Linked DNA regions of Homo sapiens: all the other regions are linked to region 1. The links are contacts of gene promoters, found by promoter capture Hi-C in blood cells and fetal thymus (Javierre and others, 2016). All regions are on one chromosome and are shown on one strand. The core of a region is centred on a gene start or on the middle of the fragment in contact, and the rest is flanking DNA. Distances in the headings are between cores, read along the strand shown. Region 1 holds the start of TRIAP1 (TP53 regulated inhibitor of apoptosis 1). Region 2 overlaps RNF10 (ring finger protein 10). Region 3 overlaps MSI1 (musashi RNA binding protein 1). Region 4 overlaps PLA2G1B (phospholipase A2 group IB).

What was found. The method cuts DNA at HindIII sites, captures the fragments that hold promoters and counts their contacts. A CHiCAGO score of 5 or more calls a contact.
Region 2: a fragment that was not itself captured here is called in contact with the fragment with the promoter of TRIAP1 in region 1 in 2 of 17 cell types (M0 macrophages and endothelial precursors); the score reaches 5.6 in M0 macrophages.
Region 3: a fragment that was not itself captured here is called in contact with the fragment with the promoter of TRIAP1 in region 1 in 1 of 17 cell types (megakaryocytes); the score reaches 5.0 in megakaryocytes.
Region 4: a fragment that was not itself captured here is called in contact with the fragment with the promoter of TRIAP1 in region 1 in 2 of 17 cell types (megakaryocytes and erythroblasts); the score reaches 6.1 in megakaryocytes.

The regions. Positions count from the first base shown.
Region 1 is chr12:120,444,545-120,448,982 of GRCh38, reverse strand. It overlaps TRIAP1 (TP53 regulated inhibitor of apoptosis 1), which reads left to right and starts at 2,599. Exons shown (of 2, transcript NM_016399.3): 1 at 2,599-2,757; 2 at 4,028-4,438. The coding sequence starts at 2,611. The coding sequence ends at 4,111. GATC (glutamyl-tRNA amidotransferase subunit C) reads right to left here and starts at 2,539. Exons shown (of 4, transcript NM_176818.3): 1 at 2,422-2,539; 2 at 2,154-2,326. The coding sequence starts at 2,502. RefSeq lists enhancers at 1,724-2,569, 2,403-2,697, 2,295-2,844, 2,059-3,258, 2,570-3,417. The HindIII fragment of the contact is 13,544 bases long and covers 1-3,975 here.
Region 2 is chr12:120,562,621-120,566,859 of GRCh38, reverse strand. It overlaps RNF10 (ring finger protein 10), which reads right to left. Exons shown (of 17, transcript NM_014868.5): 8 at 3,790-3,915; 9 at 3,237-3,513; 10 at 2,917-3,050; 11 at 1,671-1,788; 12 at 1,331-1,432; 13 at 1-35. Among named protein-coding and RNA genes, the nearest start is that of POP5, 17 kb to the left of the region's middle. The HindIII fragment of the contact is 4,928 bases long and covers 1-4,239 here.
Region 3 is chr12:120,338,385-120,343,169 of GRCh38, reverse strand. MSI1 (musashi RNA binding protein 1) reads left to right here. Exons shown (of 15, transcript NM_002442.4): 15 at 65-1,840. Among named protein-coding and RNA genes, the nearest start is that of PLA2G1B, 13 kb to the right of the region's middle. The HindIII fragment of the contact is 1,933 bases long and covers 833-2,765 here.
Region 4 is chr12:120,320,365-120,325,271 of GRCh38, reverse strand. PLA2G1B (phospholipase A2 group IB) reads left to right here. Exons shown (of 4, transcript NM_000928.3): 3 at 211-338; 4 at 2,955-3,157. The coding sequence ends at 3,079. Among named protein-coding and RNA genes, the nearest start is that of PLA2G1B, 5.0 kb to the left of the region's middle. The HindIII fragment of the contact is 7,122 bases long and covers 1-4,899 here.

The sequences.
Region 1 (4,438 bases), core at 1,350-3,849:
CTCAATTAAAAAAAAAAAAAAAGAACCTAAGTATAAAAGAATGAAGACTTGTGGCTCACGCCTATAATCCCAGCACTTTGGGAGGCCGAGGCGGGTGGACTGTGAGGTCATGAGTTCGAGACCAGCCTGGCCAACATGGTGAAACCCCGTCTCTATTAAAAATACAAAAATTAGCTGGGCGTGGTGGCGGGCGCCTGTAGTCCCAGCTACTCGGGAGGCTGAGGCAAGAGAATCACTTGAAACCGGAAGGTGGAGGTTGCAGTGAGCTGAGATTGCACCACTGTACTCCAGCCTGGGTGGAAGAGTGAAACTCCGTCTCAAAAAAAAAAAAAAAAAAAAAGGAATGGACTTTTTTGGCCAGTGCAGTGACTCATACCTGTAATCCCAGCACTTTGGGAGGCGAAGATGGGCGGATCACTTGAGGCCAGGGGTTCGAGACCAGCCTGGTCAACATGGTGAAACCCTGTCTCTACTAAAAATGCAAAAACTAGCTGAGTGTGGTGGCGGGTGCCTGTAATCCCAGCTACTCCGGAGGCTGAGGCACAAAAATCACTTGAACCTGGAGGGTGGAGGTTGCAGTGAGCCAAGATCATGCCACTGCACTCCAGCCTGGGTGATGGGGCAGGACTCCACCTCAAAAAAAAAAAAAAACTTTCTTGAGGAAGTGGGAGGCTGAGGCAGGAGGATTGCTTGAGACCAGGAGTTTGAGACCATATGGGGCAACATGGCAAGACCCCGTTTCTACAAAAATTTTAAGTATTAGCCAGGTGTGGTGGTGCACACCTATAGTCCCAGCTATTTGGGAGGCTGAGGCAGGAGGATCTCTTGAGTCTAGAAGTTTGCGACCAGCCTGGGCAACATAGTGAGACCCCGTCCCAAAGGAAAAAGAAAATTGCAAAGTAGAGAAGACATTTGAAAGAATCAAACACGGCCAGGTGCTGTGGCTCATGCCTGTAATCCCAGTACTTTAGGAGGCTGAGATGGGTGGATCACCTTTGCTCAGGAGTCCAGACAAGCCTGGGGAACATGGCAAAATCCCGTCTCTATCAAAAATACAAAAAATTAGCCAGGCCAAGTGGCACGCGCCTGTGGTCCTGTACTTGGGAGGCTGAGATGGGAGGCTCTCTTGAGTCTGGGAGGTGGACATTACAATGAGCTGAGATCATGCCACTGCACTCTAACCTGGGTGATAGAGTGAGACTCCATCTCAAAAACAAATAAAATAAAAATTCAAGGCAGGAATAAAACAGTAACTACATAATGAGCTCACATTTTAATAAAAGAGATATAACAAATGAACAAAAGTCCATTAAAATGTTAGGGAAAAAACCCAATAGGATGAGTTACTAACTAGAAGGGGAGAAGGGATTTGGAGTGGTTAGGAGAGCCCTTTCTGAGAAGATAAGCTGAGACCTGTGCCAAGAGGGAGGCAGCCATGCAAATACTGAGAGGAAGGAAAAAAACGAAGGGCCAGTGCAGAGATCTAGAGAGGAAAAGAACTTGTCTTGCTGGAGAAGCAGTCAAGGTAGCCAAGGAGAGTACTGAGAAGAGTACGTTGGAGTGAGTAGGTAGGGACTCTATGGAGTAGGGCCTTAAAGGCGATGATTAGGCCAGGCGCGGTGGCTCACACCTGTAATCCCAGCACTTTGGGAGGCCGAGGCGGGTGGATCACGGTCAGGAGTTCAAGACCAACCTGGCCAAGATGGTGAAACCACGTCTCTACTAAAAATACAAAAAAAATAAGCCGGGCCTGGTGGCAGTCGCCTGTAATCCCAGCTACTCGGGAGGCTGAGGCAGAGAATTGCTTGAACACGGGAGGCGGAGGTTGCAGTGAGCCGAGATCGAGCCACTGCACTCCAGCCTAGGCAACACAGCGAGACTCCGTCTCAAAAAAAAAAAAACAAAACAAACAAACAAAAAAAAAAACAAAGGCAGTGATTAGCAGTTCGGGTTTTGTTTCCACTTACACTAGCGAGAGCATCAGTAATGAACAAGGGGAAGAGTGAAGCCACTGACTCGCGAGGTGACTGTGGGCAAGTTCCTGAATCTTGCTAACACTCTTTAACCCCCTGGAAAACTGTTCGCTAATCGTCACATTAAACGGCTGCGAACGGGCCACGGTCAAGGCTTCGGGGCTGCAGCCGCGAGTTTACCTGTCCTCCAGGACCGATTCCATGGGCTCCACCCCGTCTGTGTCCACGGCGCGTAGCCGGTCGGCGAAGGCGATAGCTTTCTCCAGTCGCGCCACTGCCTCGCGGCTGCCGAAGTCCACAAGCGCTAGACGCTCCAGGTGCTCGATCACCGCAGCCGTGATCCGGCCACTGCCCTGGAGGAGGGATGAGGCGGGGAGTGTGGGTCACCGGCGCTCCGAAGTGCCTCCCGGCTTGCTCCGCCACCCGCCTAGATGGCCCTGGCCTTTACCTGAGGATCCGCCTTGGAGGTGAAGCCCTGGCGCCCGCCCAGAGGGGCCCGAAGGCCCAGCCACACCAACCGCGACCACATTTCTTCCTTCCTTGGCCCCCGCAGTGCGCCCGCGCGTAACGCCGAGCGACGCGCCTGAGAGTGATGACATCAGAGTGCGCCGTCGTCGCCGCCGCCACCACTGTCGCCATGAACAGTGTGGGGGAGGCATGCACGGACATGAAGCGCGAGTACGACCAGTGCTTCAATCGCTGGTTCGCCGAGAAATTTCTCAAGGGGGACAGCTCCGGGGACCCGTGCACCGACCTCTTCAAGCGCTACCAGCAGTGTGTTCAGGTGAGCCCTCCCGCCTCTGTTCCCAGGCCCTGCATTCTCGGCGCTGTGTCCCACCACACTCATCGTATTTTACGGGGATTGGGACTGGACTGGAAGGGTGGAGAAAAGTCGCAGTGAGGCCAGTGGCAGGAGCTCGCTCCCCTACCATCACCACCGAGGCCACTTGGGTGTCTCTCCGAATGACAAATATTGGGGCAGTGCTTTTCAAGAAGCACAGTCACATCCTTTGGTTCATTTGGTGTTCACCCTAAACTCGCAAGGTGGGCATAGTTACTCATATTTTATACATAAAAAACTAACACCCAGAAATAGGAAGTGATTAATCCGAGTTCACTAGCATCAGGTTTCCTTGGTTCTTTCGCAGGTGGTGCACTTTTCCACTATTACTGCTGGGGTCTGGGCGGGATTATACTTCAGAATTCAGACTGGAGGGTCACATTTTTTTGTTGTTATAAACCCTTCGTTAGCCTGTTTCTCTCTCTTGACCAGTCCCCGCAACTGCAGCCAGGAAATGTTTATTCTGGCCCAATGGATGTGGAACTGCTTTGAATTGTTAAGAACAGCACCGGGCAAAGCACTTCCAATAAGTTAACCCAACACATCCTCACAGCAATTCCCCGAGGTAGTTGCTGTCTTCATCCCATTTACAGTTAGTCACATAGCCAGTAAGTCCTGGAACCCAGATTTGAACCTAAGTCTTTCACTAACACAAAGTGATGATTATTTTTCAAATTTCACTTAATTTTAACGGTTCCCTCACAACTCCTTTTCCAGTCTCCCTCAGGTCTTACACTTGATTTATTCATTATGGTACTTCTGGTTTTTATTTATTTTTGAGGCAGAGTCTCACTCTGTCTCCCAGCCTGGAGTGCAATGGCACAATCTCAGCTCACTGCAACCTCCGCCTCCCAGGTTCAAGCTATTCTCATGCCTCAGCCACCCGAGTAGCTGGGCTTACAGGCATGCGCCACCATGCCCAGCTAATTTTTGTATTTTTAGTATAAACAGGGTCTCGCCATGTTGGCCAGGTTGGTCTCTAACTTCTGGCCTCAAGTGATCCACCTGCCTTGGTCTCCCAAAATGCTGCGATTATAGGCGTGAGCCACCACACCTGACCGGTACTTGTTTTTTAAAAAGTATGTGGTTTGAATCATGGTTATAAGTCTTTATAATCAGCTTGATTTTACTTTTGTACTGTCATATTTTATTTACAAAGCTTGCAACTTAAGCTTCATGTAGGTCTTTATAATGTGTTTTCTCCTCCTACCAGAAAGCAATAAAGGAGAAAGAGATTCCTATTGAAGGACTGGAGTTCATGGGCCATGGCAAAGAAAAGCCTGAAAATTCTTCTTGACCTTGACAGTCACCTTGAAGGATTTCGCAAGTCCAGAAATTGAGGACTCTGGATTTTTGTCAACTAACTCTGTGAACATAGCCATCAGATTTGATGAGGAACTTAGGAGAGAGGAGTTTTATTTCCTCCTTCGATGTTTTCCTCTCAGTTGTAAAAGATGAACTCTTTGAGATGATTTCTCACCTGCTGTGGTATCTTGCAGGAACTGTGTGCTAAAATTGAACAATTTTTTTGAGATTATGGTTGCAATACTTGGCGTGGAATCAGCTTTACATAAATATACCTTGTATGCAAACGATGATAAACTAGTCAGGATGAGCAGAGCTG
Region 2 (4,239 bases), core at 1,044-3,543, 120 kb before region 1:
CTGTAGATTCTCGAGGGGAATGTGGACTTCTGGGTCTGCAAAGGAAAGATAACCCTTGTAAACCCATTTACAGAATTCAATTTTTTTTTTTTTTTTTTGAGATGGGGTCTCACTCTGTCACCCAGGCTGGAGTGTAGTGGTACGATCTCTGTTCACTGCATCCTCTGCCTCCCAGGCTCAAGCGATCCTCCCACCTCAGCCTCCCGAGTAGCCGGGACCACAGGCACGTGCCACCACACCTAGCTAATTTTTTGAATTTTTAAAGAGATGAGGTTTCACCATGTTGTCCAGCCTGGTCTTGAACTCCTGAGCTCAAGTGATCTGCCCACCTTGGCCTCCCAAAGTGTTGGGATTATAGACGTGAGCCACCACACCTGGCCTGAATTTTTCAAATAGTTTCCAACAGTTGAGGACATCACACATGCGTACCCCCAAAGGTCTAGAGGATGCAGACAAAAGCTAAAACCCAAATTTACAATAACTGTCCTTCTATAATGTCTTTAATATAGTTAACCTTGTTCTAACTATTCATAATTGAGGCTGGGTAACAAACATGCAGGTTAATTACATTGTTCTACTTGTCTTGATATTTCCATAATAAAAAGGTGAAAACAAAAAATCCTATTCCTGAAATATCAGTTTTCTCAAAGTTCAGGACATGTGCCAAACACCTACACGGTGTTGGGACCCCAAGTATACACTTGTCCCACTTGAGATATAAAATGTATGTTTCCATGCCATATGGAGTCAAAACACCGAAGTCCTTTTCTGGGCCAAGGACTCAGTTCCTTGTGTTCTAGTGGATAATGGGACCTCAGGTCACACTAATCCCCTGGATTCAATGAAACTTATTTTGGAGAACCAGATCAAAAGGCTGTGCTTACTGCTACGAAAGATCTCTTAAATCCAACTTCCTGCATTTCCTAGTCTATCAAAATTTCCATCTTATCAGACCCACCTGGCAGACTTGCTGTGTATAGCTGGTCCCTTTAATAAAGAGTCAGAGGTAAGGTCAGTGATCCAGAGAGCATGGGGAACGATGGCCCCCAGCATTCTTAGCGAAGCCCCAATTCCCATCTCTGGAACAGGTGTATATCACCCACTATTACCAAGGCTGAATTTCCTCTTAATCCTTACTATGTGCTAGGCACTTTGACCCATATTAACTCATTATATTTGCAAGCAAGCCTATTAAGGAGGTGCTCTCATGATTCACATTTAAAAGTTGAAGAAAACAAGTGGCTAAGGTCTGGCTCCCAGGTCCCAGACACAGAGTTCTATACAACGACGTACAGCAGTGCTAGTCAAAGATGAAAGTTCCTGAACTTACACTTGCCCTGTTTCTTGTTCTCCTCTATCTCAATCCTGCGCTCTCGGCGGCGTTCCTCCCGAGCCTTCTTTTGGCGCTGACGTTTCCTCTTCTCAATGTCATCTGCAGATTGGTCAGGTTGTAAAGAGGTAGACCCAGGACAACATGGTCATTACCTCCTCCCAGTATTAGCAGCTAAACCCACAACAGTAGGCCCAGCTGGACTAGATGAACAGATGAAGTGTTTAGGAGGTACTAAGACTCATGATACAGTTCCATAAGTTTCCTCCCCCACTGGGTGTCTAGCCACAAGAATCCCTGAACCCTACTATAAAGAGAAGCAGAGCAGGGGCATTCTCACCTGAGAACATCTCTAGGGTTTCCTTAGAGACCACAGGAGGTTGCAAAGCCAGTTCACAGATGCTGAACTCACAGGTGAGTGGCAAGTGAGAGAGATATCTGTGACGCTGTCGAACATCCTACATTGGAAAAAGGACCAATACTCAACAAAAGCAAGCCTAACTCTGAAAGCAGGGGGTCCTAACCCCGATATCCAACAATATATACATAACACAGCCAGCACTGGGGCTGGAAACAGTAGTGCTCAATTATCCTCATTTTGAAAAGCCAAAGAGAAACTGTCAACCTACAGCAAGGTGGAATAAGCAACCAAATCCAGTTATTTTTGGTTTGTACTGCAAAGGAGTGAACTGAGTCCAGCAACAAATAATCTAAAGCCCATCAGCTGTTTCTGATTTTTTCAAGGCCCCACAGCTGAGGGGGACGAACAGAGAAGATAAAGTTATTTGTTGGCAGAAAAACAGAACAGAAAAAAACCTGGGAACCACTGACAGAATAAATAACTGGGAAGGAAGATAAAGCAGATCTCCCTATTGAAAGACACTTGGCCTGAAATAGTAGAAAATGAAGCCCAATTTTTTTTTTCTGAGACATGGTCTTGCTCTGCCGCCCAGGCCAGCTCACTGCAGACTTGATCTCCCCAGCTCAGGTGATCCTTCTGCCTCAGCCTCCTGAGGAGCTGGGACAACAGGTGCACATCATCATACCCAGCTAATTTTTTTTTGTATTTTTTGTAGAAATGCCCTGGCTGGTCTGAAACTCCTAGCCTCAAGCAATCTGCCTGAGTAGGCCTCCCAAAAGTGCTGGGATTACAGGTGTGAGCTACCACATCCAGCCCATTTATTTTCATTTCTATTCTTTTTCTGCATATGTTTGATGAAAAATTTATAGTACTCAAAGAGTCTAATTTTAAATCTTACAACAAATTTGTGACATTTCTCCCAAGCAATAAGGAGGATAAGAAACAAAAATAAACTCCATCTTAAATAAAAGAAATATCTATATCCCCAAACTACAATCAATGAACCAGAGAAGCAGGGAACAGCATTAACTGATTTAACAGAACCCTGGCATGCTGAGGGGACACTTCACTTACAAAGAATTCACAGCACCATCACTGACAGAAAGACTAAAAATACAAAAACTAAAGGCCTTGAAGGTTTGTGAACTTAGGATGGCTAGGCCTACCTCAAAGAGATTAGGTTAATACTGCTGCCTGACCCTCCATTTCTACAGGAAGGCCTCACCTCAGACATGGAGTAGCCAGCAATCTCCACCACAGTTGCTGAGATCTTCTCGGGGCTCCTCTCCAGGCTGCCGTACTCCCGCACGAGGCAGCGCACATTCACAGGGTGCAGGAACATATGCTGTCCATCTTCCGCTGAGGACAAGGGGCTCTATCACACACCAGTCTTGGCCAGTCCCCAGGAGGCTCCCCACCCCTCCCCATGCCCAAGGGCTCAAGCCACCCAAGCCACAGGATCTAGTGGCGCTCCTCTGCTTAGAGCACCGGGTCACCTCTGAAACACCTCTGCGGCAACCCAGCCCTCTCTTCCGGCACCCTCACCTTGGTAAAAGTAGTAACAAGGAGAGCTGCTGAGGCGTGTGAAGCCTGACTTGGTGATGGGTTCCTGCTGGCTGGACTCAGTGCAAATGGTCCCCTCTTTAAGATTGTCATCTGCTAACTCCAAGTCATCACAGGCCTCTGGCAACCCCTCAGGCTCTGGTTCAGACACTGCTTCCTCCTCTTCTACCAGAGGGAGAGCAAGAGGTCTAGAAGGAGTGTCCAGAGAACAAACTTCCGTGGTTTCTTCATCGAAGGCAGACAGATACTCCAGCACACCCTGTTGCAGCAAACTCTAAGTCAACAGAAAGGATATCTCCTGCTTTCCGAAAGCAATGTGGCAAATGCAGACCTAAGAGCCAAGCTCCCTAGATGTTTATCTTAGCTGTCGTGTTCACTGATTTAACACCCCTGGGGAAAGAACTAATAACAAGCATACAGAAAATACTCATTGTCCCCTCTTCTCTTGAGAAGGTTTAGATCTCACAGTAATGCCTACCAGCTCAATGACAGCATTTGAGGAACGGCAGCCACTTAGTAACAGGAACACACTAACCTTCCTGGGTTGAAAAACAGACTCCTTCGCCAAGGGAGCCATCAGCACCAGTTGTTCCAGAGCAGCCACAACACCAGTGACCTCCCTTCTGCTTCCGGCCAATCCCGACAGAGCCTCTTCCCGAGTCTAACGTGGCCAGAGAGAACACCAGAGAAGGTTAAGTTTCCAGACACACACTTAGCTTGAAGGGCAAGGGCTTAGAATGGCCTCTCAACAGGACCAAAAGTTAAAAGGCAATGAGACCCAATGGGAAGGAATTAGGTGCTTAAATATCTCAACTTTGAGGGAAACAGGAAGCAAAAAGCATGCAATACCCACTAAGGATTGGAATCTGCTTAGAATCTGACACTGGGGAGTGTAAATTAGTTCAATCATTGTGGAAGACAGTGTGGTGATTCCTCAAAGACCTAAAGACAGAAATAAAATTTCACCCAGCAATCCCATTACTGG
Region 3 (4,785 bases), core at 550-3,049, 110 kb after region 1:
GAGAGAACTGGGGAGGGCTGCGTGTGCTCCGGGAGCCCCCATAACCTCCTGGCTGTGTTCCCAGCGCCCCAGCCTGCAGCTGACTGAGGACCACGAGTGAGCCAGCGAGGGGGCGGGAGACCTCAGCCGCAGCCGCCGCCCCCTCCCCTGCAGCGACTCGGACCCGCTACTGCCTGCCCCCAACTCCCCGGGCCCGGCCCCTGCCCTGCTGCCCCCAACAGCGTCTGGCTCCCCTACTAACGTCCCCCTCTTCGCCCTTGCCCCCATCCCCACCCGCCCCTCTCCCGGCCCTGCTTTTATTTATTTTGGATTAGCCGGTTGCCCACCCCAGCCCTCTGGTCCATCCCTCCCTCCGTGCCGCGCCCCCCTAGGACCGCCCCCTCCCCAAAAGGCTTTTGGATTTGTGCATAGCTGGAGTGAAGGCGGAGGGAGCCTGCTACAGGCCGCAGCCCAACCCCTGTTTTTTATTCAGATTTCCCCTCCTTTACCCTTTCCCTTTTTTTTTTTTTTTTTTTTTTTAAAGAAACCTTTTTTAAACTATTTCTAGGTTTGTGAATGTGAAGCCCCAGGCCGCAGGGGGCAAGGGGCCAGGTGCCCCCCACCAGCTGAGAACAAAGTGTCTATCTGGGTGTGGGCCCCTGGCCGCCTCCCTCCAGCCCTGGAGAGGAGGGCAGGGCTGCGGGGAGGCCAGGCCGAGCCCCTGGAACCATCCCGTCCTGTATCATATGTAAATACTGTGAGGTGATGTGCCCACCCCTCTCTAAGACCCCTCGGGGGTGAGGGGCTCCCCCCTCCCCTGTTTCTGTCCCCTCAGACACCGTTACTGTAAGCTTGCAGGCCTCAGCTGTGGCCACGGCAGGCCCGCTCTCTCAGGCCCTCAGGGTCAAGGCCTTGGTTGGACCTGCCCACTCCAAAAACCCAGTGTGGGGGCAAAGGGCGTGGGAAGAGCAGGGCTTGCCCAGCGACACTGCTGGACAGGAATTAACTCTCCAAAGGTCTCCCCTGCTCCCTACCTAGGTTGGGGCTTCATGGTTTCTGCTCAGTCTGTCCCCCTTCCCCCTCGACCCCCGCAATGAGTGGGCACCAGGGGACGCTCTGGCGAGGGCAGACCCCAGGGGAAAGCAAAGGGCGTCTCAGGGAACCCCCACATTCTCTCACTGAAGTTTCCCACCAGGATGACCCCACAGCCAGAGTCCCTTGGCAGCCCCTCACCCCAGACCCCCCTTCTAAGGAAAAAGAGAGGTTCAGAGCGTTGGACCTTCATGAACAGTGGCCTGGCTGGCGTGGCAGGGCCAAGGCCCACCCACTGCCATCCCCCTTCTGTGTGTCCCTCTCCCCCAGTTATGAGGCCCAGGGCCTGAGCTCTCTTCCCCAGCATTGCCCCCACCCGGAAACCCCACCTTTGGAGAGTTAATTGTCTGTGTGAGGTGCTTAACCTATCAGCCCTGAGAACACAAAGCAATAATCTTTGTTACTGAGATGCGCGGCTGTTCGTGTTTTGGGTTTTTTTTTTTTTTAATGTTTCCTAATAAAAGAGAAGCTGCATTTTATTGGTTTTTATTTTTAATTTTCTACACGTTTGAGCTGAGTCCTGAGACACTTAGCTTCCCTCTCCCTCATTCCCGGACCCTTCCACCCCACTGGGCCCAACCATGGGCTCAGGACCCTGGAATTCCGTTTTCTGATTTGCTTTGGGATTTTTTTTTTTTTTAAGATGTTACATGGTGTTTCGAAGCCAGCAAGTTACCATCCTCCGGTGTCTCTTCTCTCCACATCTGTAACTTCTTTTTCCAGGTTTTATTTTCAGTTTTAAATTCCTAATAAATTATTTGAAAACGTTGCTGGGCTTGTGAATGTCTTGTGTCTCTGTGCATTCAGGGATACCTCATTTTCCTGTTTTAGGGATGGCAGGACTCACCTCCATCCTCTTAGGGTCCTGGCAGGATCCAAGAATTAAATTGACACAAGATAGATGAACAGGGCCAGTCAGTCACAGTGGCTCATGCCTGTAATCCCAGCACTGTGGGAGGCAGAGGTGGGCAGATCAATTGAGGTCAGGAGTTCGAGACCAGGCTGGTCAACATGGCGAAACCCCATCTCTACTAAAAATACAAAAATTAGCCGAGTGTGGTGGTGGGTGCCTGTGGTCCCAGCTACTCAGGAGGCTGAGGCAGGAAAGTCTCTTGAACCCTGGAGCTGGAGGCTGCGGTGAGCTGAGATCATGCCACCGCACTCTAGCCTGGGTGAGAGTGAGACTCTGTCTCAAAAAAAAAAAAAAAAAAAGAATAGGAGAAAAGCGTACACATTTATTTATTAAAAGTTGTGCATGGCATGGGAGCCTCCATAAAGAAATGAAGGCAGAGTGTGGTTGCTCACACCTGTAATCCCAGTACTTGGGGAGGCTGAGGCAAAAGGAGTGCTTGAGGCCAGGGGTTCAAGACCAGCCTGGGCAACTTAGTGAGACCTTCATCTATATAAAATATTAAATTATTTAGGTATGGTGGCACAAGCCTGTGGTCCCAGCTACTCAGGGGACAGAGGTGGGAAGATTGCTTGAGCCCTGGGAGTTGGAGGCTGCAGTGAGCCATGTTCTTGACACTGCATTCCAGCCTGGAGGACAGAGCAAGATGCTCTCATTCTCAAAAAAAAAGAAGAGAGAGAGAGGGAGAAATGAAGACCTAAAGAAGCAGTTAGAGTTACTGATATACTGGATTGGACAAAGAATAGTAAATTATGAAAAAGCCACTCAATTATGTGGAGAAGCTTAAAAGATAACAGCTATTTTGGGCCAGGCATGGTGGCTCACGCCTATACTCCCAGCACTTTGGGAGGCCAAGGCGGGCGGATCGCCTGAGCTCAGGTGTTCGAAACCACCCTGTGCAACATGAAACCCCGTCTCTACTAAAATACAAAAAATTAGCTGGGTGTGGTGGCACGCACCTGTAGTCCCAGCTACTTGGGAGGCTGAGGCATAAGAATCGTTTGAGCCCAGGAGGCAGAGGTTGCAGTGAGCCAAGGTCGCGCCACTGCACTCCAGCCTGGGTGACGGAGTGAGACTGTCTCAAAGAAAAAAAAAAAAAGCTATTTTGGCTGGGCACGTTGGCTCACAACTGTAATCGAAACACTTTGGGAGGCTGAGGAAGGCGGATCCCTTGAGTCCAGCAGTTCGAGACTTGCCTGGGTGATATGGTAAAACCCCATCTCTACAAAAAAATACAAAAATTAGCCGGTTGTGTGGTGGTGCAGGCCTGTAGTCTCAGCTACTTGGGAGGCTGAGATGGGAGGATTTCTTGAGCCAGGGAGACAGAGGCTGCAGTGAGCTGAGATTGCACCACTGTACTCCAGCCTGGGTGACAGAGCAAGACCCTGTCTCAAAAAAAAAAAGAATTACTTTAACAAGGGCCTGCACAGAATCATCTCGGTGCCGACTTCCCGCCCTCGAAGATAAGGATGTTGCCTTTCCTTCCAGTACAGGTTGGGGGTCTTTCACTCAGGAATTTCATCATCTTCTGCTTTTAAGAAACAGCACAAAGGTGAGAGTGATCATCTTGTTCCTGCTGTTTTTCAAGTGCCTTTAACTTAAATAATCAGAGTGGATATTTTTAAATATTCTCTGCACTTTCTCCCTCCTGCTTTCCTCCTGGGAAGGTCTTTACTTTCCACTTGACCCAGAGCTTAGTGTTGACAATGAGATGCCACTTCACACTCATTGCTGGGATTACAGGCGTGCACCACCGCACCCAGCCCTTCAAACAGATATGTGTACGCCAGTGTTCACAGCAGCAATATTCATGATAGCCAAAAGGTAGAAACAACCCAAAAGTCCATCAATGGATAAATGGATACGTAAAATGTGATCTATCCATACAATGGACTATTTATTCAGCCTTAAAAAGGAAGGAAATTGGGCTGAATGTGGTGGCTCACACCTGTAATCCCCAGCACTTTGGGAGACCAAAGCAGGTGGATTACCTGAGGTCAGGAGTTTGAGACCAGCCTGGCCAACATGGTGAAACCCTGTCTCTACTAAAAATACAAAAATTAGCCAGACGTGGTGGTGGGCACCTGTAATCCCAGCTACTTGGGAGGCTGAGGCAGAAGAATCGCTTGAACCCAGGAGGTGGAGGTTGCAGTGAGCCAAGATAGTGCCACTGTACTCCAGCCTCCACCCTGGGTGACAGAGCAAGACTCTGTCTCAAAAAAAAAAAAAAAAAAAGGAAGGGAATACTGTCATATACTACAACATGGATGAACCTTGAGGACATCAGCTTACATCGTGTTATATGAAATAAGACTGTGGATGAAATACTATATGATTCCACTTATACAAGGTACTGAGATTAGTCAAATTCACAGAAACAAGAAGTAGAATGGTGGTTACCAGAGCCTGGGGCAAGGGAGAAGGAGAGTTGTTTAATGGGTGCAGTTTTGGATTTGCAAGATGAAAAATGTTATCAGTGTGAATATACTGAACACTACTGAACTGCCTATTCAAATATGGTTAAGATGGTAAACTTTATATATTTTTTACCAGAATTAAAAAATACTTAAAGTTTGAAATGCATACAGAAGTGCTTATGAATAAAATGACTTGAGAGCTATGATTTGCTTTAAAATAGCCAATAAAAAAGAAGTATGTGGGTGATATGGTTTGGCTCTGTGTCCCCACCCAAATCTCATCTGGAATTGAAATCCCCAGGGAGGGATCTGGTGGGAGGTGATTGGATTATGGGGGTGGTTCCCCCCATGCTGTTCTCATGATAGTGAGTTCTCACAAGATCCAGT
Region 4 (4,907 bases), core at 89-2,588, 120 kb after region 1:
GCCTGGGTAACAGAGCAACTCTGTCTCAAAAAAAAAAAATGCTTTCAATAAATATATGATAAAAGGACTTATATTTTTTCAAGCCATAGGATCATTTCTCCTGAAGCATCTTGGCGAAGTCATCCCCACCTGTTCCTGAGAGTGGGCAGGTGAGGGCTGACCTATTGCTCTGCACTTACTCCTATCTCAGCTGTCCCTCCCACTTTCCAGGTGCTGCCAGACACATGACAACTGCTATGACCAGGCCAAGAAGCTGGACAGCTGTAAATTTCTGCTGGACAACCCGTACACCCACACCTATTCATACTCGTGCTCTGGCTCGGCAATCACCTGTAGCAGTAGGTTTATCCCTTCCTTGACCTATGAATTCTAGTTGGTTCTCAGTAGGCCGGGGGGAAATAATAGTAACAACAGCCATGATTTAGTGTTAATTTTCTTGGTTCTGGGCAGTGTCTCCTTTAATCCTCAGAACAACACTATGGGATAGGTACAATTATCCTCACTTAACAGATAAGAAAACTGAGGCTCAGAAGGCTGAGCTATTTGCCCAAGATCACACAGCTTGTAAGTGGTGACAGTTTGGGTTTTTTTTTGTTGTTGTTTAGAGACAGGGTCTTGCTCTGTCACCCAGGCATGAGCACAGTGGTGCAACCATAGGTCACTGCAGCCTCAACCTCCTGAGCTCAAGGGATCTGCTGACCTCAGCCTCCCAAGTAGCTGGGACTACGAGCGTGCACCACCACGCCTGGCTAATTAAAAAAATTTTTTTGTAGAGACTGGGTCTTACTACGTTGGCCAGGCTTGTCTTAAACTCCTGGCTTCAAGCAATCCTCCTACCTTGGCATCCCAAAGTGCTGGGATTACAGGGGTGAGCCACCATGTGCGGCTACTTATTTCTTTACATTCCATCTTTCCAATAGAATGTAAGATCCACAGAACAGGGATTACTGCCTATTTTCTTCCTTTCTTTTTTGAGACAGAGTCTCACTTCATCACCTCAACCTCCGTTCAGCTCACTGCAACCTCTGCCTCCCGGGTTCAAGCGATTCTCCTGCCTAAGCCTCCTGAGTAGCTGGAATTACAAGCGTGCACCACCATGCTTGGCTAATTTTTTGTATTTTTAGCAGAGATGGGGTTTTACCATGTTGCCCAGGCTGGTCTCAAACTCCTGACCTCAAGTGATCTGCCTGCCTCAGTCTCCCAAAGTGCTGGAATTATAGGCGTGAGTCACTGTGCCTGGCCGATTACTGTCTATTTTCTTTATTGCTATATCCCCAGATCTAGAGCAGTGTCTGACATATAGTAGGTGCTCAATAAATAATTGATGAATGCACAGCCTAGATATAAACTTTCTTTTTCTTTTTTTAAAACAATCTTGACAACTTTGCAGAATAAATACAATCTTGCATTCTGCTTTTTCACTTATCACCTTGTTATGACTTTTTCATATTGCCTCAAACCTTTATTGTTACTGTTTTTTCATTGTTACTATTTTAGTCACTGAATAATATGGCTTAATTTGCTTATACATCCTCCTGCTCCACTTTAGAAGGCCAAATTTACAAATCTGATGAAAGCTATGAACCCTCTCCCCAGAGAAATACACACACACACACACACTCACACACAGTTTTTTTTTAATGTTTGCAACTAAGACAAGAAACCTGCATTAGAGGATGTTTGTTCATATTAATTAAAAATAACTCAGTTGGGCACAGTGACTCAAGCCTGTAACCACAGTACTTTGGAAGTCCAAGGTGGGTGGATCACTTGAGGTGAGAAGTTCGAGACCAGCCTGGTCAATATGGTGAAACCCTATCTCTACTAAAAATACAAAAATTAGCTGGGTGTAGTGATGCATGCCTGTAGTCCCAGCTACTCGGGAGGCTGAGGCAAGAGAATTGCTTGAACCTGGGAGGCAGAGGTTGCAGTGAGCCGAGATCCCACCACTGCACTCCAGCCTGGGCGACACAGCGAGACTCTATCTCAAAAAAATAAATAAATAAAATAAAGGATCGGAGAGAAACAAAACTAATAAGATTCCTGAAGGTAAGCAGAGATACGTAAATTATATGTAATAAAGTTTAAATGCATTTTAACTGTAATCTTATTGTTTATTTTGGTTATAAAAGTAAACAAGCCAAAAGTAATGCAACTTCAAACTCTACATAAATATCTATTATGGAAAGTGGAAGGCATCTATAATCCTACTACCCAAAGATAACCAGTTACATATTCCTCCAGATTTTTGGGGCATACACTAGCTTTTTTTATTTGGGAAAATTTCCATGTGCAGGCATACCTAATTTTTCTAAATGTCTATGTAGTATTCCATTTAAGGATGTTCCATAATTTTTAAAATACATGCTTTAAAGTAGAGAAACTAGGTTGGGCATGGTGGCTCACGCCTGTATCCCAGCACTTTGGGAGGCCGAGGCAAATGGATCACTTGAGGTCCGGAGTTTGAGACCAGCCTGGACAACATGATGAAACACCCTCTCTAATAAAAATACAAAAATTAGCTGGGCATGGTGGCGAGCACCTGTAGTCCCAGCTACTCAGGAGTCTGAGGCAGGAGTATCACTTGAACTCAGGAGGCAGAAGTTGCAGTGAGCTGAGATCACGCCACTGCACTCCAGCCTAGGCGACAAAAGGGAAACTCCGTCTTAAAAACAAAACAAAACAAAAAAACACAGGATGCCCAGATAAATATGACTTTCAGATAAGCAATGGATAATTTTTTGGGGGGTATATGTCCCAAATATTGCATTCATTGTTTATCTGAAAGTCAAATTTAACTGGGCATCCTGATGTACTTGTATTCACTTAATCTGTCAGCCCTAAATGTGCATCAGTGGAATGGCTGCCAGCTTATTCCAGTTAATTCTTCTTGCCCCAGATTGTACAAAACAGGGTCCACCTTGGCTCAGTCCTCTCCTTTCATCCCTCTCCAGGCAAAAACAAAGAGTGTGAGGCCTTCATTTGCAACTGCGACCGCAACGCTGCCATCTGCTTTTCAAAAGCTCCATATAACAAGGCACACAAGAACCTGGACACCAAGAAGTATTGTCAGAGTTGAATATCACCTCTCAAAAGCATCACCTCTATCTGCCTCATCTCACACTGTACTCTCCAATAAAGCACCTTGTTGAAAGACCTCATGTTTGGATATTGTTTTATTCTCTGTCTATAAACTAGGTCTCTGCCTACTCTTTTATTTTTATGTATTTATTTTTTCTAGGTGGAGTCTTGCTCTGTGGCCCAGGCTGGAGTGCAGTGATGCCACCTTGCCTCACTGCAACCTCCGCCTCCCGGGCTCAAGCAATCCTCCCGCCTCATCCTCCCGAGTAGCTGGGACCATAGGCATGCACCACCATGCCTGGCTAATTTTTGTATTTTTTGTAGAGACAGAGTTTCGCCATGTTGCCCTGGCTGGTCTCAAACTCCTCAGCTTAAGTGATCTGCCTGGCTCGGCCTCGCAAAGTGTTGGGATTACATGCATGAGCCGCCGCGCCTGGCTACTCTGCCTAGTCTTTTGTGAGTATCATTTCTTCCAGCCTTGGAAGCTAAGTTGAATTAGAAAGACACTTCCAGGAAGCAAGCAAGCACCTTGAAACCTGAGTAATGATTAACGATCACCATCTACTGATTATTTACTCTGTACCAGGACTGTGTGTCCATAAATCCTCTTGACAGCCCTGTGAGGTATTGGCGCTATTAGCAAATCTTATTTTCCTAAGCTGAGGCTCAATAGGAGAGGTCACTTTTCCAATGCTATCATCTAGTAAGCAGCAGAGAAGGAATTTGAACTCGGCAAGTCTAACAACAGAAAACACATGCTGAACCACTGCCCTTCCCTGCCTGAAGTGGTAGGCTTTAGTTTGAGCCAGACCTTGCCCCCGTCTCATGATTCTGCCTCCATTTTCAACTGTATTAAACCATTTTTCTACAATGACTTTCTTTTTTTTTTTTTTTTTTGAGATGGAGTCTCGCTCTGTCGCCCAGGCTGGAGTGCAGTGCTGCAATCTCGGCTCACTGCAAGCTCTGCCTCCCAGGTTCACGCCATTCTCCTGCCTCAGCTTCCCGAGTAGCTGGGTTTACAGGCTCCTGCCACCACGCCCAGCTAATTTTTTGTATTTTCAGTAGAGACGGGGTTTCACCGTGTTAGCCAGGATGGTCTCGATCTCCTGACCTCGTGATCCGCCCGCCTCGGCCTCCCAAAGTGCTGGGATTACAGGCGTGAGCCACCGCACACGGCCACGACTTTCTTTTCTAAATAAAAGACTTCACCACACTCTACAGGCTAATTTTGACACTGTAGTCATGAAATATAATAAACATTAACAAGCCGAGCATGGCGGCACGCGCCTATGATCGTAGCTACTCAAGAGGCTGAGGCAGGAGGATCTCTTGATCCCGGGAGTTTGAGGCTGCAGTGAGCTATGATCACACCACTGCACTCCAGCCTGGGTGAAAGAGTGAGACCCTGTTTCAAGCTACTAGGGAGGCTGAAGTGGAAGGATCCCCTGAGCCCAGGAGTTGGAGGCTGCAGTGAGCTGTGATCACGCCACTGCACTCCAGCCTGAGTGACAGAGAGAGACACTATCTCAAACAAACACACACACAAAACACAAACAAAACAAAACAAAACAAAACAAAACAAAACAAAAAACCAATAACAGCTTGCATTTCTGGAGCACTTACTGCATACTTCCTTGTTCGGAGTTTTCCACATCTCATCTCATTAAATGTTCAAACCAGCTCTGTGATATTGATATTTTTGCTCCCATTTCATGGATGTGGAACTAAAAATTCAGAGAAGTTAAGTCATTTGTCCAAGATCACACAAATGGCAAAATCAGGATTTGGCCAGGTCTGTCTGGTGGCAGTGCCCAAGCTTTTAACCA